Linked DNA regions of Homo sapiens: regions 1, 2, 3, 4, 5 and 7 are each linked to region 6. Evidence: promoter capture Hi-C in 16 types of primary human blood cells and fetal thymus (Javierre and others, 2016). All regions are on one chromosome and are shown on one strand. Each heading gives the region's core, a stretch centred on a gene start or on the middle of the fragment in contact. The rest is flanking DNA. Distances are from core to core; before and after follow the strand shown. Region 1 overlaps MYO16 (myosin XVI). Region 2 overlaps MYO16 (myosin XVI). Region 3 overlaps MYO16 (myosin XVI). Region 4 overlaps MYO16 (myosin XVI). Region 5 overlaps MYO16 (myosin XVI). Region 6 holds the start of IRS2 (insulin receptor substrate 2). Region 7 overlaps MYO16 (myosin XVI).

Region 1 (4,034 bases), core at 678-3,177, 670 kb after region 6:
CCCTCTCCCTGTGCACTGCTAGATGCAGAGTGTTCCTAGCTGAGATTAAAATGTTAATGTCATTCTGACTCCTGTAAAAGTAAACCATCTGTGAATTACAGTCATCGCTATTTTTATTAGAAAACCATTAGGTTTTTTTTCTTGTTAGGTGACAGATTTTAAAAGATTAAACAAAATTGTCATTGATGACTTCCAAAGCTCCAATTACTGTTACAATTTTTAGGTGTTTTTTTTTTTTTTTTTTTTTTTTTTTTGAGAGGTGTAGGCTGTGGAGGTACAGACAAATGCTGGAACGGTGGTTGTGCTAGAGTGTAGGTGGCACGGAAGCTGTGTTAGTAGAGACTTCAAGGGAACCTGTAGAGCACTTCTTTTTTTTTAAAAGACAATTTTTAGGAGTGCTGAGTGTTTCTGGCAGTACTTTTGAAATAGCATTTACAAAGGAAAAATATAGCTATTATCCTTTGATATTTTTCTATGATGCACATTTCTCTCTATATTAATGAAATTGAGAAAAACATCTAATGTAGAACTCTTCTTACATATTGGTAGTTTAGAAAAATAGTGACGCCTCTCATTTTGTTATATCTATGCATTCTTTGGGAGTTGAAGAGGCATATATTATTTGTATTGTATGTGTCACTTAATTTAGTTTACTCATTTACTGCTACTAAAAAATACAATCAGTAATTGTTTCCCATGCAGGTAAAGTAAAGGAGAAAGCTCAGGTCACATGGTTCTGCTTTGACAGAAGAAGGACACGTCAATTAAAACAACATAAAACACTTCAGTTACTTATGGAGACATAGAAAATTGGATAGAATTTATTTCGGAATAATAGTACAATTTCCTCTAAGGAAATGTGCACTTGTGATATCCACAATAGACTACACTAGTAGGATTAATAATCTACAAAGGAGGTGCAAAGAAACAGAGTGCCCATAACCCACACTGTTCTAGTTAGATCTCAGAAATCATCTTGATCAACCTCTTCAGTTTTCAAGAGAAAAAGGTATGTTTTAGAGAGGACGTATGACATTCACACAGTCCACACAGAAAGTTAGTGCCAGAGATAAGATGAATCGGAGCTCTCTAGGCTCCAGACTAAAAGAAGCACACACCCTTGATCCTATAAAGTCTCAAACTGAAAAATGCATATTAATCGCTTGGGATCTTGTCAAAATGTAGATTCTGTTCCAGTGGGTTGGGATGGGGCCAGTGATTCATTCTGCATTTCTAACACATTCCTAAATGATGTCGGTGACGGTGGTCTGTGGACCACATTTTCAGGAGTAAGACCCTGGGTCACTCTCTTTTCTTGAAGCTTAACTTCTTTGACAAGCTCACCTGGTCCCCTGCTCTGTGTGTCTGTCATCTCTGTTCCAATGTTTGTCCAAAGCTGCTATGTTGCTGCTCCCCAGTGAAAAGTTAGCTATCCTCAGAGTTCTTCACTGAATTCTCCTCTTACTTTTCATCATCTTCCTGGTAAGTTCATTATTCCAAAAGCTTTCAATACAGACTGCTCGTGAGAGCTCATCTTATCCCCGAGTCCATACCTATGGAGCCCATCTCCTTGTGCACACATTTATGTCGATGTTTCATAGGCACCCTAGCCTCACTCATATGTTTCCATCTTATCCTGGATTCTCTAGCTCAGTGACCAAAAGGACCATCTACCTGGGTGTTCCCTGAGCACCTCAAGCCCTAAAGATTTCCACAGGTCATTTCTCCCACACTTTCCCATCTCATCCATCCCTACCCACTCTTGCCTTTCTAGGCTAATGGAGTCGTCATCACCTCATCACCCAAGCCAGAACCCCAAGCATCACCTAAGTATGTTTACAGCTTTTCTCCCAGTCCCCATTTAGTCATAAGTTCTATTGAGGTTTCTAGAACCCACTTCCTGTTTACTTCTATGAATAATTTCAGTAGCTCCATAAATTATCATGGGTCTACATGCGTCCATTTTTTAAACTATATTCAGCGTGATCTTTCTAAATATCAATCTCATTATGTTCCTTTCTTGTCTAAAATTATTTAGTGGCCTGTAATGATTTTCAGGATGATGTTCAAATGCCTTTGAAAGGTTTATTAGACTTTTTTATTGTATGGCCCTTTTAGTCTCCTCCCTCCCTTCCTCCCTCTCTTCCTTCCTTCTTTTCCTTCCTTCCTCCCTTCCTTCTTCCTCTCTCCATCCCTCCCTCCCTCACCTTCCCTCTAAAATTTGCGGTAAGAACACTTAGCCTGATATCTAGCCTCTTAATAAAATTTTAAGCATATAATGCAGTGTTGTTAAATAGCAGTGAAATGTTGTATAGTAGGCTTCTAGAACTTATTCAATACATTCAAGCTTACTTACTCTCCAACTATATCATATTGCTTTCTGATCCAAAGTGGGAATTCATTTTTCTCCTGTTTAGTGTGTATCTTATAATAATAAATCAATTACAGTAGTACATCCATGTCACTAGTGTACCTTGTATACATCTCTACAGTAGCACTGAAGTCCTGGTTTTCTTCTTATTTGTGTATCTGTCTGACTATTCAACTTAACTGTGAGATATTTATAAGCTCAGATAATGTTGGAAAAGTATAAAGCTCATAATTCACATGTATTAAGGTGAAGGAAATGAAAGTAAATGGATGTGTACAATGGAGAAGGCAGAATTTTAAAAAATGCTTTGAATAAGCACTTGCTATAACATGACCTCAGATATTTAAAATTTCATTTGTCTACAAAAATTATTTTTTTTTTGGCAGAGTTTCGCCCAGGCTGGAGTGCAATGGCATGATCTCGGCTCACCACAACCTCCTTCTCCCAGGTTCAAGCAATTCTCCTGCTTCAGCCTCCTGAGTAGCTGGGATTACAGGCATGCGCCACCGTGCCTGGCTAATTTTGTATTTTTAGTGGAAACAGGGTTTCTCCATGTTGGTCAGGCTGGTCTCGAACTCCTGACCCCAGGTGAACCACCTGCCTCGGCCTCCCAAAGTGCTAGGATTATAGGCATGAGCCACCATGCCCGGCCATCAAAAATTAAATCTTAAATATTTTCAACTTATTTAAACTATTTGATTTATTTTATTAAAATACATCTAATAGGATTAAAGAAACAAAGATGCTGAGTTTCATATTTCCAGTGCCATCACCTCTGATATAGGATTATTACCGACTAAAATCTAGAATTTAACTCATCATCTCTCCTTTATCTGCTTTTTAACTCACCTTGCACACTGACTTCAATTTATTGGTCTTCTAGAAACTTCAATGATTTTATGTTGCCTATAAAGCCCTCCATAATATGAGCTAACCCTTTTTTATTTCTCTAAAAGAGATGCTATTTACTATTATTTTAGCTTCCCGTATACTCTCCTGAAGCAGAAAACCAATGTGAACCTTCTTTATATATTGTACAGGGCCCATAGCATTCTTATGAATGGAGTTTTCACTGAATAATATCATTACTGTTGTCAGGATTGGGTTAGATGCTATCCCTTTATTTTTAAGTCTACAATCGGCCGGGCATGGAGGCTCATGCCTGTAATCCCAGCACTTTGGGAGGCCGAGGTGGGTGGATCATGAGGTCAGGAGATTGAGACCATCCTGGCTAACATGGTGAAACCCTGTCTCTACTAAAAATACAAAAAATTAGCCGGGCGTGGTGGCACGTGCCTGTAGTCCCAGCTACTTGGGAGGCTGAGGCAGGAGAATTGCTTGAACCTGGGAGGCGGAGGTTGCAGTGAGCTGAGATTGTGCCACTGCACTCCAGCCTGGGCAACAGAGCAAGACTCCGTCTCAAAAAAAAAAAAAAGTCTACAATCATTGGAATATTTTATTAACATAGATTATATTTTAATGAGAAAGGTCTTACTGTGAATGCTAGCTTCTTTTCTGCAATTAAAATGCTTCATTTTCATACAAAATTAATCTTTAAAAATGTTAACCCCTCTTGCTCTAAAAACAGCCCTAGTCTAGTAAATACTTCCAGCTTTTTCAAAGGATATGTACTATCGTAGTTGCATCAAAAGTAGTCACATCT
Region 2 (3,853 bases), core at 440-2,939, 820 kb after region 6:
GATGATCCTCGCTTACTACAAGTCACACCCGAGCAAAACACTAAAAAACAATGCCCCTATCTCTAATAGTGTTCTGTGAATCCTGATATATCTATTTCCCAAGAACAAAATATCTCCCTTATCTGCTACTCTGTGAAACAAAAAGATCACGAGTGAAATGTAAAAGGAAGACTGGGCTGCATCTTGGGTGTCCACCATGTGAGTCATCTGCATTGTTTTCTACAACTCTCCCCTTCCCCATAAATAAGCTAATATAAACTAAGATGCTTTCTTACCAGCCACTATATATATATATATATATATATATATATATATATATATATATATATGGCTATATATATATATATATAGATGGCTATATATATACACACATACATATAGTGATGGCTGTGGCTGGTAAATATATATATATATATATATATATATATATAGAGAGAGAGAGAGAGAGAGAGAGAGAGAGAGAGAGAGAGAGAGACAGGGTCTCAGTCTGTCATCCAGGCTGGAGTGGAGTGGTGCAATCATGACTCACTGCAGACTCACCGTCCTGGGCTGAAGCAATTCTCCCACCTCAGCAGTTCCCAAGTAGCTGGGACCACAGGTATGTACCATCACACCTGGCTAACTTTTTTGTATTTTTTTGGGGGGTGGGGTAGAGATGGGGTTTCACCATGTTGCCTAACATGGTCTCAAACACCTAAGTGATCCACCCACCTCAGCCTTCCAAAATGCTGGGATTACAGGCATGAGCCACCACGCCTAGCCCCATCACTATTATCATTACAGCCACCATTCCCATTGTGTCAGATACTCTCCTAACAACTTAATATGCACCACCTCATTTAACCTTCAAATAACCCTGAAAAATAAACAAGTTTTTGTAACCTGGGTGTCAAAGAAACAGGCTTGGATAACCAAATAACTAACTCATGAGAAATCAATGCGATTAATCATAATATTTTTAAATGTTTATGTTTAGGTCAACTAAAATACTATAAGAATGTAATATAAGAATTCATAAGAAACCAAAGGCTTAGTGAAAAAATGATCTCCATATATATGTTAGAAACTCAACTTATTTTAATGTATTAATATACATAATATTTAACATTATTAATAATATATTAGTCCAGTTATGCTGCCCAAAAAAGTGGATGTCATATCAAGTTGACAAGAATGAATGAATGAATAAAAGTATACTCAAATAACCCTCTATAGGATTACTGTAGACTAGATAGATAGAGAGATGACTGATAGATAGATAGACAGATATAGATAATATATCCACATACATGTAGATTATATGTGTATATATATATATATATATATATATAATCAACACACACACACCATTTTATTCAGAACTGATGTTGAAATAAATGATAGGTTTTGATGTTTGAAGGCATTTGGAGAACACTCCAAAGTTTCTATAACCCTGTACTTGCCCAAACTTCTATGTGCTTGCAAAACCCTGAAGAAGGATTCAAATGAGGAAAAACAATAATTTTAAATTTAACATTGAATTTAACATTTGCTAATTCAATCTTGGGGATGTAAGTGCTGCGTTATAAAATAGGCCCAATTTTAGAGCTTGCAAAAATTATTGATCTTTTTTTAAAACAGTTATTTTTCATTATACTTTAGTAGCTCCAATCATGTATCTCATTTCAGAATCCTATGGATGATATCCTTTATAAAAATTAAATACACTTTAGATCATGGACTTTGTTTATAAAAAGTGAGCAACTGGAGTGTGTACAACTCCTCAAGACACTTTCCCATTCTTTAGCCCCTCTCTACCTTCAACCCCAAGAATTCTTGTCTAAGAGGCACACTTGGGAAAGTGTGGGGCCTCAACCTATTAGCCAGGTGAACCTGAGTCTGAAGGGTTGCCCTGGACTATCGGAGGGGGTGGGAGCAACCAGCACACACACATGCATTTCACACGTCTTGAGGATTGCAGGGAAAGGAATCCCAGTGATGACAATTTATGAGGATTTGAAGAGAAAGGGTCAGTGACAGCCATGTTCGTGGCCAGGAAAGCCTTAAGATGTCAATCAGCAAGTCCAGAAATCCCTCACCTCCTTGTTCCTGTCCCTATTTTACCTCGACACTGGGGTGCGGCAGCCCAGGAGCATGACAGCTGCCCCCGCAGGCCTTGCCTGTGGGAGAGGGAGGGGAACTCTCACCTTTGAACATACTTAATTTCTGCTCCAATGCTGGCTATTTCAGGATTAAAGCGTCCATAGAACTGTGATTTATTTAAAAGTGACCAGAAAAGTCTCGGGACCTGATTAAGTTTTATCTCAGAGTCAGAAAAATATTACCCCCATTGAATAAATGTGAAAAGGAGGTGGGACATTAGAAAACATGTTTTCATTATACCACAAGTCATGCTTTTTTAATAGCGTTACACCAAAACAAGTGAGAATGGTTTCATATAATGGTTAATTTGGTTACACTGAAATAAGTATAAGGCAACTCAGTTTGAAAAGTTGTGAACAATTCTGCCTATAATGTTGACCACCATAAAACAGACACATTTCTGGCAGCCACCATAATATTATCCATAATGCTGCCCTTTCAGATCAACAGTAATTTTAACGTGTTCCCCCAGCTATCTGGTTCAAAGGTTTGCAATTTTCTTAAGCAAAAGAATGGCAAATACTTAATGGAAGCCTTTCAATATTACATTAGAAACAGCCAGCTAGTATCACAAAATGGAAAAGGGTTTCTTCAGTAATGAGGCAAAACAGACCATGAAAGAGGAGAAGTGTTAAGAAAATTCTACACCAAATCCTCTCTGTCTCACAAGGTGTGTTCTTAAGATGATGCTCTAAATCACAGTGGTGAAACCCTGGGTAGAAACCTATTCAGAGCTATAGAAAAAAAAATATTTAACAATCCGCAGTTCTCGATGTGATTGCTGTAGTCGGGCAGAGAGGTGATTGAGCTCATTTGGGAAGCCCTACAATGGTGCTGTTTGCCTCTCAAACGTGCTAACACTGTAAAAGAAGCCCTGGCAACCTCACAATTCCTAAAAAGAATGAGCAGAGCATGGCTTTGGTCTGGGTGGAATTCATGAAACACCCGAGTGGAGGTGATGCCTCCTTGGGGAGAATGGCTGTTATCTGTGGGAAGAGAGGGCCACACGCCTTTGGATCCACTGGGGGAAAAGTGGACAGTGAAGAGAGTGGAATGGAAGATCCATGGCATCCCTGTTCATCAGTGGGTGCCAATTTTCTATATGTGAAATTATGGGAATCTATGTATGGGTTCTCCAAATGGTTTAAACAAGGACTTTGTTAATACCTTCGGTGGTCATTGGGTGTCAGCTGACAATTCACAGAGATGCAGAGGCTAAACAATTTTAGAAAAGTCAAAACAAACTTAACAACTTTATTAGTTTTTCTTTAGAAATAATTTGATGTAATTTAAGATTATATTTTCATTGCTAAATGTGATCAATTTAATGTGAACTGATGGCAAGTTATGAATAAACTACATGGGTCTTCCATATGCCTAGTGGCCAGACAAGTTCAGGGCTATACTCTCGAAAACACTAGAGAACAACAACAAAAAAAGATCCAACTCACTCAAAATGGGAGTCTCAAAGCCCACATACCTTTGTGCATTAGACTGTCCCTCAATCTTTCAAGTTCATGGACTCACATGTGCTAGGTGGAGATGCTTATTCACAGTCTTGAGGTTTTCTTACAGGAAAAGGAAGCCCCTTTAGCTGTAAGTCTCTTGGCTTCTGGAAGACCAACTTATTCCCTCAGAGTCTAGGAGGAAGCCTGGACAAGGAGGGCTCAGGGCAGTCTTCCTGCGTTCGTGGGGAGCACGTCATGGCCTC
Region 3 (3,764 bases), core at 597-3,096, 650 kb after region 6:
ATTATCTCAGAAAGATTTGTGGGTGTGGCTTTTGACTAATCAGGTGGATTATGAATTGATTCACAAGAAAGTCACAAAGCTTTTAAATGAATGTTATCAGTTTACACTGAAAGGAGCAGCCTGAACACAAAAATGAAGAAACTTTGGTCTCTCAAAATTTTGGCGAGGTGCAATGTGAGCCTGCAGTCCCAATTGCTCCAGAAGCTGAACAAGAGAATCACTTCAGGCTAGGAGCTCAAGGCTGCAGTGCGTTATGCTCATACCTGTGAATAGCCACTGCACTCCAGCTTGGACAACATAGCAAGACCTCACCTCTAAACAACAGCAACAACACAACCCTGATAAGGAAGAAGCAGGCTGAAAAAACTACTAGCCCCAAACATAAGTCACCTCTTGTGGATTGGGAATTATTAGTCAAAAAGTGGGGAACCAAGATTCCAGAACATAGACCTAAGAGCTACGGAAAATTATTTCCAGCCTGGGAACTGGACTAAATCCTCATGAAGGCATAAGCAACATGCATCCAGCTCTTGTTCATCCTCATGAAGGCATAAGCAACATGCATCCAGCTCTTGTTCACAACTGCTACCCACCAATGACCACTGTGTGTCGCCTGATCTCCCTCCTGTGTCTGAGCAGAAGCATGCATCAGTTATTCTCTACCTGTCCCTCTGATGCATTTTGCTTGTGTGGGGGGATCAGGCAACTTGTCTTTTTAGGCCACAAGTCTTCAGTTAGAAGAGGACACACTTGAGGCGCTGTCTCTCTCAGGAATCGTACCGGAGGCACCGGCACATGTGGATCTGGTTTAGACGATGCGATCTGGCCCTTGAACCTGAGCCAGATGAGATGATGAAGGAGGCTTTGGGGAGTCTGGGGTAGGGGTGAGTATAGTTTGTATGACAGAGGGATACAAATTGTTTTGTCCAGAGGGTGGACTGATACAGATGGTACTTTCCAACACCTTGGCCACCACAGTATATCCTTTCCAGAGGTAGAATCTGTTTCTCCTTTCCTAAACCTGGTTTGGTGTTTGGGACTGAGGTGATGGAAGGAACGTGGCAGAAGGGAGTTTGCTCACCTCCCAAAACTGGCTCCCTGAAAGCGATGCTGCATCTACTGCTTTCTCTCTCCCAAAGCACATGCCCCTGAAGCACTGACTCTCCCTGTAAGAAGTTGGATACCCTGAAGCTGTCATGCTGCCCAGGCAATGCAGAGAGACCACACAGACAGAGAGAGACACCCAAGGAGTCACAGTCCTCAGATGGCTGAGGCACCAGACATGCCCGTGACCAGCTTTCAGATGATTCCAGCCACCTTGCTGCATGAAGGACCGAGAGTGACAACTGCTCCAGTGATCTCTGTTGACACCCAGAGCCTGAGAGGGATAGTAAAACAATCACTACTTTATGTAAACCTGTAAGTTCTGGGTGGGTTGTTATGCAAAAACACATAACTGGTACAGTATTCCCTCAAAGTTTGATTCAGATGCGGTGAAGAGCCTTTTTGCATTAAACAATTATAAATAAAAGTAGCATGTTTGTTGGGAGGCTGTTGAGAACCTGACTCAAGGGTCCAAACTTGCCTATGTGACACAGGACAAGTTACACCATTGATCAGTGACTTAATGCCCTTCTCTACATAGGGTCATGATGACAGTCCTACTAGGTAGGGCTATTCTACAGATGAAAGATACTTAGCTTAATGCCTGCACATGATAAACATCACTAAGTATCCATCATGATCGACATTATCACCGCTACACAACCAGAAACTTACTGTGAGAGATAGAACTGTTCCTTAAAGTGTGGTCTGGGGTTCAGTAACATCAGATGACTAGAGTGCATTATCCTGTTCTACTCCATAACAATTAAAATGGAACCTCTGGGGGTCAGAACTGGAAATATTCATTCTTTATAAACTGAAATTAGAAAACCACAGTTAACAAATTAAAGTCTAATTTGGTTTGTGGCTACTTCCGGGTGTGTGTGCATGTGTACACGTGCTAAAAGTTCATTTGCAAATACTGGTTAGAGGGTTATTAAAAATGAATTTACATCAAGAGTTTTCTTATTTTTTTGTTCTAATATTGATGCATAAAATGTTTGCAACTACTTGATAAAGTCAATGAGATGAAGTAGGGAAGACAGTCCATGATCACAGAATACTTTTAGGGCAGGTTCTGGGATCCTAACAGTAGCTTAGGAGTTAGACTACATTCTGAAGCCATCTCATTACATCATAAAGTTGCCTCTTATCTGAACTGCTGCAGAATGATACGGACATGTGTGTCACGTTAGGAGATCAACATTTTCTCCTACAAAGTATTTTCCATTTGGTATTTTTGCTAAGGCATGTCGGTGACTTTTAAGTCATCTTCTGTGCATAAGTTATTTGGTCCCATTCTCACAAGAACAAAATACCTGCATAGTTAATCTATGAGAAAAAGGAGGAATGAGATGCTTGTTCATCCAAAATAAACAGTGTCTGCGTGTGTAACTCTCCTCCATTTTCCAACACTTCTAGTGTGGTTGTGCTAGTTTCAGAGCGAAAGCAAACATAGCACAGAGCACAGGACCTAGGACAAAAAAGATGCTTAATTAAGTGCCTGCTAGCTGACTGCTGAGGCTGCGTACATGAGTGGATGTAGGATAGATTTACAACCAGCTGCAAAATGGACAGAAAGGACTTCTACTGAGCTGTCATATGTCGCAACTTTGTTATAACTTTTCTTTCCTGGTGGGAGGAGCGGTTCAGGCAATACCATTGCCTTCCATGCCCCCATCTTTTACCCTCTTGACTGCACTACTGCACTCGATGCTGTTGGCATGCCCTTCCTGAGCCTTTCGCAGTTTCCACGGAGGGCAAGGCACTCTGTGGCCCAGTGTGCACCCATCACGTCCTCACTGCTGTGGTTGTGCTTCCCCTATAATTTGTTTGACCACTTATCTCTCCTACTGGTCTGTCAGATCCTCGGGGAGAATCCAGGCTCATGGAAGACACTTAATTACTATTTGTTGGATGTACAACTGCGTCATAGGTGGTGAACTGTGCAATTGTGTTCTGTTATTCCCAGTAACACATTTCTCAGAAGAGCAACACAGAAGACCTAATTTCTGTCCATTTAAAATTTTTTTAAAGGGCTTCTGTTAAAAATATGCAGACAAATCTAGCCTTGACACATTTCAAGGGTACTTCTCGAACCTTGCCAAATTGTGCTCCCTCTCATATACCGATAGGAAGCAAATTCTCTTTTAATGAAGAGAGTGTAGAGAAATAGATTTCTGTAACATGTATTCACTTGGTAAGTATTTGATGAGTGCTTACTATGTGACACATGTTGTTCTAGAATGAAGACAGAAACAAGAGAGTAAAGAAAAGACATATTATTTCCAAATTAAGCCACAGAGCTGAGCCATGATTGTGTCTACACATGTAAACTGTGTTTTGTGGAGAATGCAGTTGTACAGCAATTTTGGAAAAAACAATTATGGTTTCATTAAGGTATGATCCCCAAGGAGGGGACAGCTGGAGTCTGAAGGGAGGGTGAGTGTGGAAGCATCAACATAGAACGGTGAACAGTGAGGACTAGAGCTGCCTGAGAAAAGCTTGCTTCTGCAATTTCACCTTGAGCAACCGTCACTCCAAGCCAGGCACAGCACCACTGACATCATGACTTAATTGCAAGTCCCACATCTTAGGATTTAGTATCCATTTCACAGATGAGGAAACTGACTGTCAGAGGCTTCATTAACAACAAAGTT
Region 4 (3,647 bases), core at 1,051-3,550, 640 kb after region 6:
ATGGGGTTTGACCATGTCGGCCAGGCTGATCACAAACTCCTGACCTCAGGTGATCGGACGGTCTTGGCTTCCCAAAGTGTTGAGATGAGCCACCTCGCCCAGCCAGATTAATCATTTCTAAAGTACGTAGGTTCACATGTAAATGAACATAGAAATAGCAAGAAAAAAATCTATCCTTTCTATATCTATATATCTATAGCTATTCTGATACAGTTACTCCAAAACATAATTTGATCACGCCCTTTGAAAAATCCTTTTACTGTGCAGGATAAGGCACACAGTGGCTTCTAGCACACAAGAGGACAACCTCCTCTTGTTCTGATGCTTTCTCTTTGGAGATTTTGTTTCCTATTTGCCCGTATAAATCCTCCCCTGTAGACCAGTGTTTCAGAGGACATATTTGTGAGCTGAGAAATCAATTTAGTGGGTCATGACACGCACTTTAAAATGAAAGAGAACAGAATACCATGAGTAAAAATGCAGTGTTGAACGAGCGTCATGGATACGTCGTGTTTTGTGAATCCCGAGTAGTATCTCTATGTAAAATGTGAGTCTCGTCCCCTGGATGCGTCGGAGTTTTCAAGTTTCCTTGCCATGGTCTGCTTAAGAGAGAGCCCACATTTCATTTTAAAAATCCATACAATTCCATGCAATGTCTGGCACCAAATAGATTCCTTGGAATAAATGAATGAAGTGTGCCCTTCGTATTTAGTGATTTTTCCGAAACCTTTTTGAAATTTTGAAGCAAACTGCAGATAGTAATAGGAAATACTACTGCTAGTTTTATCATTTTGCCTGAAGTTAACCTCTGATATTTTGTAGCCTAGGAAGAACTACATATCCGGAGGCATGCCATAGGGTAGTTTTCTCACCTGATAAAAGGAACGTTTGTTTCTAAAGCTATTGCAGAGGGTTCCGAAGACATGCTCAATCCCCGCAGAAATGGAAATGTATTCCGATTAGCAGCTGTGCCACATCACCGGGTGTTTTAATGATCATCAGATTAAAAAGACGTTTTTATGATCCCACATCTCCAGATATAAAGCACAGAGCCTCTTTCCTGTGTCACTGTCCCTAACCTCTAAATTAGAGATAACTTCAAGCCTGGGTAAGTGAATGGTGGCGACCCCCTACTAAGCTGCAACTACATCAGTGAAATTAATGTTCACGATTAGAGTTTTACTGTCTGGAATGACATGTAAGTGATTCAACCAGATCTCTAGTTGTGCTAATGTTTATGTGGTGCAAATAGGGTGTGATTAGAAGGAACTAGAACAACACCAAGAGTGTGCTCCTATCTCCGAAATCAAGGTCCCGTAGCTTCTCTTTCCTTAAAGACTGAAATAGTTACTCGAAAGGCAATTTAGCAATTAAAAATCTAAGGGGACTTTGTTACTAAGGGGGCTTTATTACTGGTAATATATACAAAGGTAGTTAAATACCAAGAGACAGAGTCAATCAAATTCTCATAAAAAATTTTAAAAATGTATGCTATTTTGCCTTATAGGATCTGCTGCTGGGCACTGGTTATTTACTTAAGAAAGGATCTGTGAACTGGCAGAAGTACGATGGAGGCCACCTACTTTAAGTTGGTTGTTTGCACTCCTGTATGTCCCCTCCATCCTGCTGTTAAAGCCAGTCTGACCCCCTCCAGCACGTCATCTCGCCTGAGAGCTGAAGTTAAGGGAATGTAACGTCACCAAACGGATGTGGCCTCAGCAAGTAACTTCATAGCTGTGAGCTTTGGTTTGCTTTTTAGTGACATGGAAAGGCCTGTATGGTGAAAGTTTTCACTCATTGCTTTGCCTAAGTCTTCTCATTTTCACTTACTTCTTCCCAGTTTATCCAGCTTTTCACATAAAAGGAAAATAATAAAGCCAAAATCCAAAACATACATATTTTTCAGGGACACACCCTCATGTACCAATTGTGCATATATCACTTCTTCCTGCTTAAAAATGGAGATTTCTTTTGAAGGGTTATGTTTGATTTTGAGCCAGAGTTTTCAGTATGAAGAAGCTCTTTTTGGGCTTTTAGGACTTCAGGTAATGCACAAATTCTCAGGTGTCTCTCGCAGTCAGTGTTCTGCTGTAAATCAGTGCAAGTCTCGGATCTAGTTCATGTCTGACCTTGTTTGGGCTCTGCATAGTTTAGAACTTAGTCATTTGCGTGGAGGAGAGAAATGAATCATATTGTTTATTGTCATAATTAACATGTGTTATTAAATTTGCAAATGGCCACTAATTGCCCATGTACAGGGTCTAAGTATGAAAACTGAAGATTTCAAGGAGAAACCAGGATGGAGTCAGTAAAGGCCTGAGAAGCTCTGCACAGAGTACATGGTGGACGGCTGTGTTGATTCATGGAATGAAGCACTGGGTGAAGTGATATTGAATATAGCTCACTCTCGATGGCGTGAAATTTTGTAGGCTAATCTGGGGATTAATCATAAAAATGACTGAAGTCAGGCATAAGGAGCCTAAACACTGGTAGGTAATTGGGAAATAGGTTTTTCTCTTCCAATACTCTTCAGGAGAGAAAGAGCATGGCACCTGCCCAGTCTCTCTTTAGGACAATATTCCATGCACCATGTTGCTTCTAAGCATTTCTTCACAAAAGGAAGAAAACCCCAGGATATTGTATTATGTGGCAATAATGAGATGCAGATAGTCAGGAAGGTCTTTATTAACTTGCTTAAGGAGAGCTGCTGAGTGGCTTAGAGGATAAAGGGCTGGATTTCTCTTTAGAGCCCCCAGTGGGAGTTTAATTTGCAATCCAGTGTAGAGACACAATATACAATAGCTGCTTGCTTTAGTGGGTTGATAGTATGAAAAATATTTACTGGTTATGAAAGAGAATCCACTTCTGAGAAGTCTGCCTTATTTTCAGAATTTCAGGTGCAATAGATCCTTTCCCCACTGACGGTGCATTATAGAGCATCCCGGTTGTAAAGGCTTCTTTGTTGCATTTGGTTAATCTAAAAAATGATAACCTCTTTACGCTAGATACGTATCTCTGGTCTGACTGACATGCTAGCTGCCGCAGATTTACAGCTAATATGTTAAGGTAATTTCTCAGGACAGTTCATGCAATTCATAGGGTACCTTTTTGATCAGATTGATCTAAATATTTAATAGTCATAACCTTCTGCTTGGTTTTGCTCCTCGGTTTCAAAGAATAATGAAGTGGCATGACCTAGCGGGAACAGCATAGTCACGAGAGCAATGAGCTTTATATTTTCCCAACAAATATTTATTGAGGGGCTGTGAGTATAGCCCTGGCTTTATTTAGTCATGTTTCTCACTTTGCTGTTACCGATGTCGGTTTCTACGTACACATAATTGAGAAAGGAATGGATTTTTGCCTGTTTAAAGAAAGTTGCTGTAGAGACAAACGATGAAGACTTTTTGATTGTCTGTCTTTCCCCTGTTCCAATCATGGTCGCTATTGAGAATCACTGCTGATCATCTGTCTGTACAGTTCTTAGCATGGTTCCTGGTGCTAGGTGAGGGCCCACCACCCATTTAATTTCTGGTGGGTCTGGGGCAGGCATCTGACACCCCACTTATGAGGTTGAAGTCCACATCCCCAGCAAGTCATATGTGTCCTACAAAAAATATGCTGGGCTACTCTGCAAGTGAGTACAA
Region 5 (4,039 bases), core at 594-3,093, 800 kb after region 6:
TGATGTGTATATAAAGGTAATATGAAAACATAGGAAATGTTCATGAACAACATTAATCCCAAAACAAAAGCCAGAAACAAAATGTATACCTTTAGTATTCTTAAAGTATAATTTGAACTATGTCAAATAAACCTAAGCCACAGGAAAAATAAAATCTATGTTAACAGTACCTGTAATAAGATGGTAGACCTGGAGGTGATTTCTTAATTTCTTAAATGTTCTATACTAGTATTATAAGAATATTTATCTTTAACCTCATTTAAAAAATATATTTGGGCATTTTCTAATTTTGTAGAGAAAATTGACACCAATAACCTTAAGGGCAGAGAGGGGATACTAGAGCCCCATCGTGGTAGGAGAAAAGTGTCTGGTTTTGCCAGTGGTAAGAGATGCTGCCGATGCAGGGACAACTTCAGGAATAAGGAGAAAAAGCACTGGGTCTCTCCCCTGAAGGCCGGGTGCTGGTCCCGAGCACAGATGCCTCTCTATCCACTGACATCAGGGTCCCTATGTCAGGCTCTCAGGTCCGATTACCCTCCTTGCTTCCCAGTTGACCTTGGCAGAAGAGACCCTATAATCATGGCATATTGTTTTGATAGAATTTAGGGAAAAGAGCAGCAGAGATCAGTGACACCATGTCACTTCATACCTACCTCCCTCCCTTACAAGGATGGCAAATTGCATCAACACACAGAGAAGAGATTATTTGGCCACTGTGGCATGTGTGGGTGGGCAAAATCATTAAAGGATGGGTTCACATTGGGGAAAGTGAATTATTAATTGGTAATTTAGAGTGGCATACATTTGATTGGAAGGGTATTCCTCCTAAATGCTTTTTTTCACATTTTATAGATACTGAATCCAAACATATTTGGTTTTAAAAAAAAAAGAAAATTCCATTGTCAGGAGAAAAACTAAATGCAAGTTTAAAGCATTTTAAGGACGACTTTTGCAATTACTGACAGGCATAACATGATCATTTAAAATAATTTATTTCATCATTTATGACTGAAATATGCGTCTGTTACTGCAATAGCAACATTGGCAGGATAGTAATAAAAACTTTCAGCCAGCAAAACGCCCATACTACGTAGCAGTTGACCTGACTGTCATTCCCCTTATTGATATCTGACTCCTATTCCACAGGCATTTAACTTAACATTCAATTTCTGACAACTGGGAGCAGAGAGGTCATGTGATCCAGCCAAGACTCAATCCTATAGGCAAAATTAACATATGAATTAGATGATCTGTTTCAGTTCAAATTCTGCCTTAGAATTCTCCCGAGAGCTTTCTTGATAGTTAACAAAACTGTCAGCTTGCATTGACATATTAGTAAAATGCAACACCCTTTACATCAGACAAAATATTAAACGCCAAGACATCAGTCTGGTTTTCATTTTACCTTTTATGTAGATAGATATAGAGTGGAGAAAGGACTGAATTAAAGAGAATGCCTATCTTAGAACACGGGTAAACTCACTTCATCTGAGCAGAACAATCTGATGGTGTGTACAAGGCAGCTTTTGTCCTCAATTATCCTCAGGCAAGGAGATTCCCTAGAGAGTTCTCCAAGTAGTCAGTTTAGGAAGTAGCTTAACCCTGCTTGGCACAAAAACCCTTAGACTGAGTTAGACCAGTAGGACCCCAGATGGGGCAAGAATTAAATATAAACACATTCCAGACGTGAGCAATCTTGTCCAGACTTACTGCCCTTGGGATCAGCTGCACGTACATAGAGGCTAGTGCCAGAAAGTCCCTGGAGATGCCGAGCTATGCTATGGCATTCACCAACTGCCCTGTCAATATGCTGATTTATTCATTTACAAAAAGTTTTGCTTTCCTTAATTGGCCTGATGCCTCGCTGTGGAGGTGAACCCTGCTTAAATCTTACCTTATTTCAACCTCTCAGGGTGTTTTTTAGTCTATGAGAGAAACTTGGGGGGAAGAAGTGGGACTCTAGGATTGCATACTTTTGGGGGTTCCTCTCTTTTATTCTTTGAAGAAAGTACTTGAGACTTCTCACTTTCTGCAACCATGCCAGAAATTATGGAAAGCCTTTGCAATTCTGACAGTTGCACTAGAGGCTGGGAGTAACCAGAGAGGCCGTCCGGCCTTCTCTATTCTATATGGTATTGTACAAACTAGCATCTTCCTAGATGCAGTCATTCCCTGCACCTTTCCCCACAGAAATATATGTTAGGAAGTACAGAACTGCGGACCCCTTGCGAGGAACATTGCAGTTAATTAGACTTAGAGAAAATCCAGGATGTAGGTCAACACTGGAGTCCCGTGCACAAAGCACTGTTAGGAGCATTTAAAAATGCCTCTCCTCATTTAATCCTAGGGAATACTGAGATACAGAATGGTGAAGTAAGCTGCCCCCAAACACAGATGAGTATTAGATAGACCAAGCATTTGAACTTGGCCATCTAGCTGTAGGGCCTGTGTCTGTAAGTTCTATGAAGCTCTGCAGAAAACTATTTCCAATTGGTGGTCTTACACCCGAGTCTAATTCTGTTCTCCTCAGAAACCAAAAAGGGCACTGTCTGCATTTGAGATAAGAAAGTGAGCAGTTCATCAATAACTGTAGTAGTGAGAAGAGTATACATAATAACAGATCAATTATATCCTTCATATTAGTGAAAGCCACACTCAGACTTTAAAAGCCTGAATACTATCTTTTTTTTTTTTTTTTTTTTTTTTGAGACGGAGTTTCGCTCTTGTTGCCCAGGCTGGAGTGCAATAGCACCATCTCGGCTCACCACAACCTCCGCCTCCCGGGTTCAAGTGATTTTCCTGCCTCAGCCTCCTGAGTAGCTGGGATTAAAAGCATGTGCCACCACACACAGCTAATTTTGTTTTTTTAGTAGAGACAGAGTTTCTCCATGTTGGCCAGGCTGGTCTCAAACTCCTGACCTCAGGTGATCCATCCACCTCAGCCTCCCTTAAGTGCTGGGATTACAGCCATGAGCCACCATGCCCAGACTACATCTTAGTCTTTATGGAGATTACATGTATAAAAATATACTGAACTTTACACATAACGTGCACTGTAGCTATGTTCTACCTTGATATGGTTTGGCTGTGTTCCCACCCAAATCTCATCTTGAACTGTAGCTCCCATAATCCCCATGTGTCATGGGAAGGACCCCTTGGGAGGTAATCGAATCATGGGGACAGATTTTTCTCACGATAATCTCATGATAGTGAATAAGTCTCACGAGATCTGATGGTTTTATAAAAGGTGGTTCCTTTTGCACACGCTCTCTTGCCTGCTGCCATGTAAGATGTGCCTCTGCTCCTCCTTCGCCTTCTGCCATGATTGTGAGGCCTCCCTAGCCATGTGGAACTGTGAGTCCATTAAACCTCTTTTTCTTAATAAATTACCCAGTCTCGGGTATGTCTTTATCAGCAGCGTGAAAACAGACTAATACATACGTCAATAAAACAGTAGAAAACAAACAAACAAAATGTATGCTCACTTGGATCACAACTATGCACTGTGATAGATTATTAGATAAATATTTGTTAAATGAGAAGCACTTAAATGCAGATTCATTTTGGCAATGCCAAATCAAACACGATGTTAGAATAGTGAAATTATTACGGTTGGCTCTGGCTACTACAAGAAGCTCAAGCATCATCTATCAGTAGAAAGATATCAGCAAGGAAGCAAATTACCAGCAAGATGTTTGAGTGGCCCAGAACTTCAGGAAGAACTGAAAATACATTCTTCATGAAGTTAAATACACTGACCGCCGTATTTTTCCCACTAGTGTTTTCACTGATCGTTAAGAGTTATATCTGGTCTCCTCCCACGTCTGCTGACACGTCAGCTACATGCTACGCTGTCAAAGCGGAGGTCCACTTCTTGGGGGTATCTTCAGTATAATGACTTTACTCCTTCCCACAAAAACGATAAATACTTCCTTGTGTTCAACCAATTATGTGGATGTGAGTCAGCGAGACAAACTAGAGGGAGGCTGCTTGCTGCTGATGTATGTTGTCAAGGAGGGATGGATTTCCTGACCATGCA
Region 6 (4,052 bases), core at 688-3,187:
GGTGCACAGACTTAAAATGGCATTTCTTGAGGTATTTTTTTTTAAGGTATGATTTAAAAATGGAAGATCAACTTTAAACACACCTTTTTGAGGCACACTGGGTGATATTTGCCACAATGATTATTCTTCCCAAATTCAGGCTACTGATCAATAATCCTAACTGTATACATGCTAAAAATAAAAACGCTATAATCTTTGTACTAGTCAGGGCTCTCTTGGCACATAAAATTAGCCAACACAATCTTCAAGTCACATGTTACAAAAACATATTAAAATATATATCACTCTTTCAAAAATTACACTTATTTTCTCTTAGATTAAGATTTTATTACTTTTAAGATACTTCTATGAATTATAGAGGACATCCAAAAGTAAACATCCGGGACTTAAAAACAATAACCAATATTATAAGATAAATTATTGCTGTAAATTATTTCATGAAGGCACAATTAAAAAAAAAATAAAATAAACAGCCAAAGCCTGTTTTGTTGAGTTTTCTTCGTTGCGCAGGATCGGGAGCTTGCTGGGATCTGAACTCAGGAAGCCCTCACCTCACCCTGACTTGGTCATTGAGGAGACGTAATTGCAGGGGTGCTTATTTGCTATAGGCTTTGAAAGTCACAAAAGCCCAGTAGATACATGAATTCGAAGCAGTTCTCCAAGGGCATCTCCAACTTGGCAGTCACCGCCCGCACCGCGCACACAGGTAGTGGACGCCCGCCCACCTGCCCGTCTGCTGGGCGCAGGGCGCTCCTGGGGTGGGGAGGGCGCTCCTGTGGGGGGAAAAGGGGCGCTCCTGCCTCGGAGGGGGAAAGGACGCCCCTGTGGAAGGAAGGGGGGGCTCTTGAAGCGGTGTGGTGAGAGGACGCTTCCGAGGAAGGAAGGGGGTGCTCCTGCAGCGGTGGGGGGAGAGGACGCCCCTGCGGAAGGAAGGCGGCGCTCCTGCGGGGGCTGGAGAGACGCCCGCGCGGTCTCCCGGCTCAGGGACCGCTGGCTCGCGGGTCCGCCCTCTCCCCGGCGCTATGGAAACCGCACTTTCTCCGCCTGCCGTCCCCGATCTCTTTCTCCTATTACCTCCCAAACGCGATTTCAACTTCCCGACAAGCTGACAAGTGAATGGCGCAGAGGACGCCCCGTAAAGCGCCCGCGAGCGGGTGGGACACAGGCGCCCCCTCCGCGCCCCTCTGTCCTCCACGGAAGGGCGCGCGCCGCTCTCGATCTGGAGCGCGGTGCTCGCGAACCCGCGGCCGCGGGCCCTGGAACCTCCCCGCGTTTCGCGGCTGCGGGGGGACGGAGATGCGGCCGGGAGACGGGGACGGGAAACGGGGGACGGGGATGGGGCGCGCCCACCCCGAGCGCGGGAGCGGCCGCCCTCGCCCAAAATGGGGACCCCGCGCCCCGAGAGCACGGCCCGGCTCGCCGCCCATGCTTCCACTGCAAGGCCGCAGCCCCCGCCGCCGATCCCGATCCCCCGCCCCGCCCAGCCGCGGCCCCGCCCGGCGCCCCCTCCCCGGCGGAAGCTCAAGCCCAATTAATTGAGTCCGAGGCGGGAGGGAAGGGCCCTGCGCGCCGTGGCCCGCCCCGCCCCTCTTCCGCGCCCCTTTTCCCGCCCTGGGTGGCATCTCCTCCGCCGGCATCCACAACAAGCCGCTGATTAATGAGGCCGGGGCCGCCCCACCCCGCCCGGCCGGGCCGGGGCCTTCGCGGGAGGGGGAGGGGACGGCGGGAAACGCGGCCCGGGGAGAAAGGGGGGCGGGGCGGGGGCGCGCGGCCCGCCCCCGCGAGCGCCGCGCCGATTGGCCGAGCGCGCCGTCCGTCGGGGGGCGCGGCGCCAATGCGAGGCAGCGGGGCGGGGCGGCCGCGCTGTGTGTGCCTGCGTAACGCCGAGTCACATGTTGTTTTGCTCTTCTTAGTTCAGTCACTCGGTGCGCGATGTGTTACTCACTGTGCGGCGGGGACCGCGACGAGCCCGGGTCGCCGTTGGCAGCAGCAGCAGCAACACCAGCAGCAGCAGCAGCCCCGGCGGCGGCGCGGACCCCGAGCGCCCGGGCGCACCCCGGCTTCCCGGAGCGCGACGCGGCGGCAGCAGCCCCGGTGCGGCCGCGCGCGCCTTAGGCTCGGCCCCGCGGCTCGGGGACCCCGACTCCCGGCCCAGCGAGCGCGTCCCCCGGCGCCGCCCGAGAGCCCGAGGAGGCAGCGGCCGCAGGCAGCCGGGGAGGGGGGCGGCCACCGCCCGCGCCGGGCATCCTCAGGAGCCCCAGAGCGCGGAGGGCGCGGCGCCGCCGAGCGGTGCTGGCCCCCGCGGGCCTCCCCGGACCTTCCCCACCGCCTGGGCCCGAGGGACGCGTGATCGGGCGGGCGGCCGGGCGCAAGGGTGGGAGGGAGCCGCCCCCGCCCGCGCCCCCTCCGCCCCTCGCCCCAACCCCTGGGCGCCGGGCCCGGGCCGCGCGGCCTGAAGCGCCCGCGATGGCGAGCCCGCCGCGGCACGGGCCGCCCGGGCCGGCGAGCGGAGACGGCCCCAACCTCAACAACAACAACAACAACAACAACCACAGCGTGCGCAAGTGCGGCTACCTGCGCAAGCAGAAGCATGGCCACAAGCGCTTCTTCGTGCTGCGCGGACCCGGCGCGGGCGGCGACGAGGCGACGGCGGGCGGGGGGTCGGCGCCGCAACCGCCGCGGCTCGAGTACTACGAGAGCGAGAAAAAGTGGCGGAGCAAGGCAGGCGCGCCGAAACGGGTGATCGCTCTCGACTGCTGCCTGAACATCAACAAGCGCGCCGACGCCAAGCACAAGTACCTGATCGCCCTCTACACCAAGGACGAGTACTTCGCCGTGGCCGCCGAGAACGAGCAGGAGCAGGAGGGCTGGTACCGCGCGCTCACCGACCTGGTCAGCGAGGGCCGCGCGGCCGCCGGAGACGCGCCCCCCGCCGCCGCGCCCGCCGCGTCCTGCAGCGCCTCCCTGCCCGGCGCCCTGGGCGGCTCTGCCGGCGCCGCCGGGGCCGAGGACAGCTACGGGCTGGTGGCTCCCGCCACGGCCGCCTACCGTGAGGTGTGGCAGGTGAACCTGAAGCCCAAGGGTCTGGGCCAGAGCAAGAACCTGACGGGGGTGTACCGTCTGTGCCTGTCTGCGCGCACCATCGGCTTCGTGAAGCTCAACTGCGAGCAGCCGTCGGTGACGCTGCAGCTCATGAACATCCGCCGCTGCGGCCACTCGGACAGCTTCTTCTTCATCGAGGTGGGCCGCTCGGCCGTCACAGGCCCCGGCGAGCTGTGGATGCAGGCGGACGACTCGGTGGTGGCGCAGAACATCCACGAGACCATCCTGGAGGCCATGAAGGCGCTCAAGGAGCTCTTCGAGTTCCGGCCGCGCAGTAAGAGCCAATCGTCGGGGTCGTCGGCCACGCACCCCATCAGCGTCCCCGGCGCGCGCCGCCACCACCACCTGGTCAACCTGCCCCCCAGCCAGACGGGCCTGGTGCGCCGCTCGCGCACCGACAGCCTGGCCGCCACCCCGCCGGCGGCCAAGTGCAGCTCGTGCCGGGTGCGCACCGCCAGCGAGGGCGACGGCGGCGCGGCGGCGGGAGCGGCGGCCGCGGGCGCCAGGCCGGTGTCGGTGGCTGGGAGCCCCCTGAGCCCCGGGCCGGTGCGCGCGCCCCTGAGCCGCTCGCACACCCTGAGCGGCGGCTGCGGCGGCCGCGGGAGCAAGGTGGCGCTGCTGCCGGCAGGGGGCGCGCTGCAACACAGCCGCTCCATGTCCATGCCCGTGGCGCACTCGCCGCCCGCCGCCACCAGCCCCGGCTCCCTGTCGTCCAGCAGCGGCCACGGCTCGGGCTCCTACCCGCCGCCGCCCGGCCCGCACCCGCCTCTGCCGCATCCGCTGCACCACGGCCCCGGCCAGCGGCCCTCCAGCGGCAGCGCCTCCGCCTCGGGCTCCCCCAGCGACCCCGGCTTCATGTCCCTGGACGAGTACGGCTCCAGCCCAGGCGACCTGCGCGCCTTCTGCAGCCACCGAAGCAACACGCCCGAGTCCATCGCGGAGACGCCCCC
Region 7 (3,924 bases), core at 825-3,324, 600 kb after region 6:
ATGAATAGATCTTCACCAAAAAAGATGCAATAATTTTAAAAGTCTTTGTATCTCAAATATAGCTTCCAAATGCATGAGGCAAAAACTGATGAAACCGAAAGGTGTGGACAAAGCCACAGTATAGTTGGAGACTTCTGTGCTCTTCTCTCAGGAATAGATGAAAAATGAACACAGAAAGCCAGCAGAGACATGGATGTGGACACAAGTAACCAACCAGACCTAATCCACACTTCCAGAAGACTCCACCCAATGGAAGCAGAATACATATTTTTGTTGAAGTGCCCAAGGAAATTTCAGCCAGACAGGTCATATCCTGGGCCATAAAAACATTTTAGTACATTTAAGAGAACTGAAATCATACAAGGCATACCCTCAGATCATAGGGGAATTAAACTAGAATTCAGCAGCAGAAAGGTACCTGGAAAACCCCAAATACTTGGAAAGCATCAGTATTAGCCAAAGAGAAAGTCCCATGGGAAATTAGAAAATATTTTGAACTGAATGAAAATGGAAACAAAACAAATTAAGATTTGTGGGATGCAGCTATTACAGTGTTGAGATGGAAATTTACAACTCTATTAAATGCTTTTATTAGGAAGAAAAGAAACACTTCAAGTCAGTGATCTATGCTACCTATTTAAGAAAGCAGAAATAGAGAAAATTAAGCCCAAAGCAAGCAAAAGAAAAGAAAATAAAAAACAACAGGAATCAATAAAACAGTAAAACAATAGAGAAAATCAATGAAATCAAAAGCTACTTTAAAAAAATCAATAGAATTGATAGACTTCTAGCTAAACCGACCAAGAAAACACAATAAGCAAAATGTTTGCCATGCATGAAACTGGCAAGGAATATTATCCAGAATATGTGGAAAATTCCTAACATCATCAAGAAAATCATGCAAACAAGTTGGGAAATAAGAAAAGGATGTATTTGGATTAACAAGTCTGAGAATATGTGAAAATACTGCTTGGCAACCAGGAAATAAAATAAAACCACAATAAGATCCATTTTACATTTATCATATTGGCAAAAATTAAATGAATAATTAAACCAAGTGTTTACCAGGAGAGATGGAAAACTTTACTCCCTTTTAGAAGTACATACATTGGTTTAACCTTTTAGGGGAGTAATTTGGTAATAACCACTACAGTTGAAAATGTCCATGAGCAGAAACTTAGCACTTCCATTTCTAGGGGAATCTTGGGCAATTTTTTTGTTTCCCCCAGTTGTAAGTTAGAGGCATTTTCAGTGATGTTAATTGTAGCATGGCTTGTAACATTGATAACTTGGAAATGATTTTGATGTAAGTTTTCCACTCACTTTGGTCAAACTGTAAACATGTTCTTAAGAAATGCCATGACCACATTTATATGGAACTTGTTTCTCAGAAAAGTTTCCAATGAAGGAGGCATGTTTGCACCTAAAAAGCAATATGATTGTGTGTGTTTGTGTGTGTGTGTGTGTGTGTGTTGAAAAGCTTATAGAGGCACTGGCCAGAATGTATGCTCACTTCCTTGGGTGCTGTAACTTCTAGCCCTCTAGTGAAGTTGTAAACTACAATATGACCTGCATATTGGCACTGAGCACAGAGCATCATCGATCTCCCTGCACCTTTCATGGAGATCACTGAATTAGGTTTTCTGTGGACCACAACACAACAGACCAGAGGAAAACACCATCTGCCTTGTGCTCATCTGTCCCCCTGAGGCACCACAGCACCCTAGGGCCAGCAGCAGCAGGTCGTGTGACACCTGCCCTTCAGTCCCTAATGCTTTCCTCTCCTCCTGAGCTTGCTCCCTGCCATGCTTGTTGAAGGAATATGAGTATAATTTTGCACTAAGTATGTGTCGGTCATCAATAGTTTCTTATTGTATCGATACCTCAGCCCTAAAGTTGTTTTTTAATTTAATTTTTTTTTGAGACACGGTCTCTGTTGCTTAGGCTGGAATGCAATGGTGTGAAGACAGCTCACTGCAGCCTCAGTCTCCTGAGCTCAAGTGATCCTCTTGCCTCAGCCTCCCAAGTAGCGGGGACTACAGTTGTTAACCCTAAAGTCTGTACATTTCACCTGGAGCTAATTCTTAGAATAAAATAACAAGTGGGAGATGCATGTATCAAAATGGAAAAAAAAGTCCCACCACAGCAAAAACAAGAAGCTGTTTGCAGAATAATCTGTAGAAAGTGAGATTTTTTTTTACACTTTGAAAGCATGAATAGCATTGGTTATTACTTGTGAATATTATATGATTTATGAGTACACCTATGCTCAGTAAAGGTGCAAACATGGATGAAGGGCTACGTGCAAACTTCATTGTGATGATTCACTTCTGGTGTGGTAGGCAGGGATGAGATTGAGAGCTAGGATACATGTTTTTCCAAAAATGTAGCTCTAAAGTAAATAATGCAAAATGTTAAGACTTATTAAAGGTGATGTTTCATTAATCACTGTTTTTTAAGTTTATACTATTCCATAATAAATCATATTTTAAAAATCACACATATAATAGATTTGACCAAAATCCCAGAAAAATATTGGGTTCTCTTGATCCAATCTAATCTCCTCCATATTTTGGATAGCATCTACAATGTTAAAATCAGAACTGGTTTTCAGAATATTGACCCTGCAAAGAAAGGAATACCATAATAACAAGAGCAAGTAAGCTTTTAGCTTTTTTTTTTTTAAGCACCTACAGTATTCCAGGCAGCATCATGCTAGGCATGTTACATATATTTTCTCTAATTGACCCCCAAAATTACTTTTTTGTGCACTTACATGATGAATGATGAATCTGGGATTCTTATCTAGTTCTTTTCTTATTTTCTTCACTTTAAAAACCAATTAAATTAATATTGAAATTGTTGTTACCTAGAATTTATAGTTAGCCAAATGTTTCTAATTACTTTGTTACTCCTCCACTATACAATAATATTGCTAACTGCAGGTTTCCCATCTAGAAGGTGAGCTTGCAGAAATATCACAAGACTTTTTCCTCTTTAAAAATGTAGTCACAGCCAGGTGCGGTGGCTCACTCCTGTAATAACACTTTGGGAGGGAGGGGGGCAAATCATTTGAGGTCAGGAGTTTGAGACCAGCCTGACCAACATGGTGAAACCCCGTCTCTACTGAAAAAAGTATATAAAAAATTAGCCGAGCATGATGGCATGTGCCTGTAGCCCCAGCTACTCAGGAGGCTGAGGCAGGAGAATCGCTTGAACCTGGGAGGTGCAGGTTGCAGTGAGCTGAGATTGTGCCACTGCACTCCAGCCCGGGCAACAGAGTGAGGCTCCATCCATTTCAAAAAAAAAAAGAAAAAAATTAGCCAAGTGTGGTGGCACGCGCCTGTAATCCCAACTACTTGGGAGGCTGAGGCAGAAGAATCACTTGAACCTGGGAGGTGGAGGTTGCAGTGAGCCGAGATTGCGCCACTGAACTCCAGCCTGGGACAGAGGGAGACTATCTCAAACACACACACAAACAAAAAAAAACATAGTCACTACTCTGACTTCTTATTTTCTCAAAATTTATGGCAATTAAATCCTCCTCACTGATAATAAATAGTGTCTTAATCAGAAAAAACTGTGCATTTATATACACTTATGTTGCATTAATAAATACAGTGCAATTTTATGATGGAAAAATACAAAATATAGGATATGTTTTTGTTTTTTATTTTCTAAATTTCTATTTATCTCTACTGGACATGACCTTTCCCTGTTGAAAATGCTGCCATTTCACACATCAACTTAATTTACTACCTTCATTTTTTGCACATAATCTGTAAGTCACGAGTGGTGAGTACGGATTCCCTGAACCTTGGCTGTGTGAAAGAGCTTTGTGTGCTAGATCTCCTTCTCTTTGTAGCTCATATATGGTTATATAAAATATATATTTATATATGTTTCCTTTTGAAAGGGTTATCT

The links. Contacts are between HindIII fragments. The CHiCAGO score rates a contact against its expected background, and 5 or more counts as called.
Region 1: a contact is called between a fragment that was not itself captured here and the fragment with the promoter of IRS2 in region 6, in 1 of 17 cell types (M1 macrophages). The highest score is 5.2, in M1 macrophages.
Region 2: a contact is called between a fragment that was not itself captured here and the fragment with the promoter of IRS2 in region 6, in 6 of 17 cell types (M0 macrophages, naive CD4 T cells, M2 macrophages and 3 more). The highest score is 7.5, in M0 macrophages.
Region 3: a fragment that was not itself captured here is called in contact with the fragment with the promoter of IRS2 in region 6 in 3 of 17 cell types (M0 macrophages, M1 macrophages and megakaryocytes); the score reaches 8.0 in M0 macrophages.
Region 4: a fragment that was not itself captured here is called in contact with the fragment with the promoter of IRS2 in region 6 in 6 of 17 cell types (M0 macrophages, M2 macrophages, M1 macrophages and 3 more); the score reaches 13.0 in M0 macrophages.
Region 5: a contact is called between a fragment that was not itself captured here and the fragment with the promoter of IRS2 in region 6, in 1 of 17 cell types (endothelial precursors). The highest score is 5.6, in endothelial precursors.
Region 7: a fragment that was not itself captured here is called in contact with the fragment with the promoter of IRS2 in region 6 in 1 of 17 cell types (monocytes); the score reaches 5.2 in monocytes.

The regions. Positions count from the first base shown.
Region 1 is chr13:109,111,463-109,115,496 of GRCh38, reverse strand. All of the region lies in intron 28 of MYO16 (myosin XVI), which reads right to left. Among named protein-coding and RNA genes, the nearest start is that of MYO16-AS2, 12 kb to the right of the region's middle. The HindIII fragment of the contact is 844 bases long and covers 1,506-2,349 here.
Region 2 is chr13:108,968,828-108,972,680 of GRCh38, reverse strand. The region is part of intron 20 of MYO16 (myosin XVI); the gene reads right to left. Among named protein-coding and RNA genes, the nearest start is that of MYO16-AS2, 130 kb to the left of the region's middle. The HindIII fragment of the contact is 8,355 bases long and covers 1-3,853 here.
Region 3 is chr13:109,132,058-109,135,821 of GRCh38, reverse strand. The region is part of intron 31 of MYO16 (myosin XVI); the gene reads right to left. Among named protein-coding and RNA genes, the nearest start is that of MYO16-AS2, 32 kb to the right of the region's middle. The HindIII fragment of the contact is 3,529 bases long and covers 82-3,610 here.
Region 4 is chr13:109,149,943-109,153,589 of GRCh38, reverse strand. All of the region lies in intron 32 of MYO16 (myosin XVI), which reads right to left. It overlaps LOC105370356 (a long non-coding RNA gene), which reads left to right. Exons shown (of 5, transcript XR_931717.3): 2 at 1,508-3,647. Among named protein-coding and RNA genes, the nearest start is that of MYO16-AS1, 16 kb to the left of the region's middle. The HindIII fragment of the contact is 5,221 bases long and covers 1-3,647 here.
Region 5 is chr13:108,985,290-108,989,328 of GRCh38, reverse strand. All of the region lies in intron 20 of MYO16 (myosin XVI), which reads right to left. Among named protein-coding and RNA genes, the nearest start is that of MYO16-AS2, 110 kb to the left of the region's middle. The HindIII fragment of the contact is 4,460 bases long and covers 1-4,039 here.
Region 6 is chr13:109,784,468-109,788,519 of GRCh38, reverse strand. It overlaps IRS2 (insulin receptor substrate 2), which reads left to right and starts at 1,937. Exons shown (of 2, transcript NM_003749.3): 1 at 1,937-4,052. The coding sequence starts at 2,467. It overlaps LOC124903211 (WAS/WASL-interacting protein family member 1-like), which reads right to left and starts at 1,436. Exons shown (of 2, transcript XM_047430835.1): 1 at 1,075-1,436; 2 at 1-920. The coding sequence starts at 1,427. The coding sequence ends at 683. RefSeq lists silencers at 1,540-1,709, 1,730-1,959 and an enhancer at 2,801-3,430. The HindIII fragment of the contact is 25,501 bases long and covers 1-4,052 here.
Region 7 is chr13:109,184,159-109,188,082 of GRCh38, reverse strand. All of the region lies in intron 34 of MYO16 (myosin XVI), which reads right to left. LOC124903207 (a long non-coding RNA gene) reads left to right here. Exons shown (of 2, transcript XR_007063864.1): 2 at 1-3,924. Among named protein-coding and RNA genes, the nearest start is that of MYO16-AS1, 19 kb to the right of the region's middle. The HindIII fragment of the contact is 1,184 bases long and covers 1,483-2,666 here.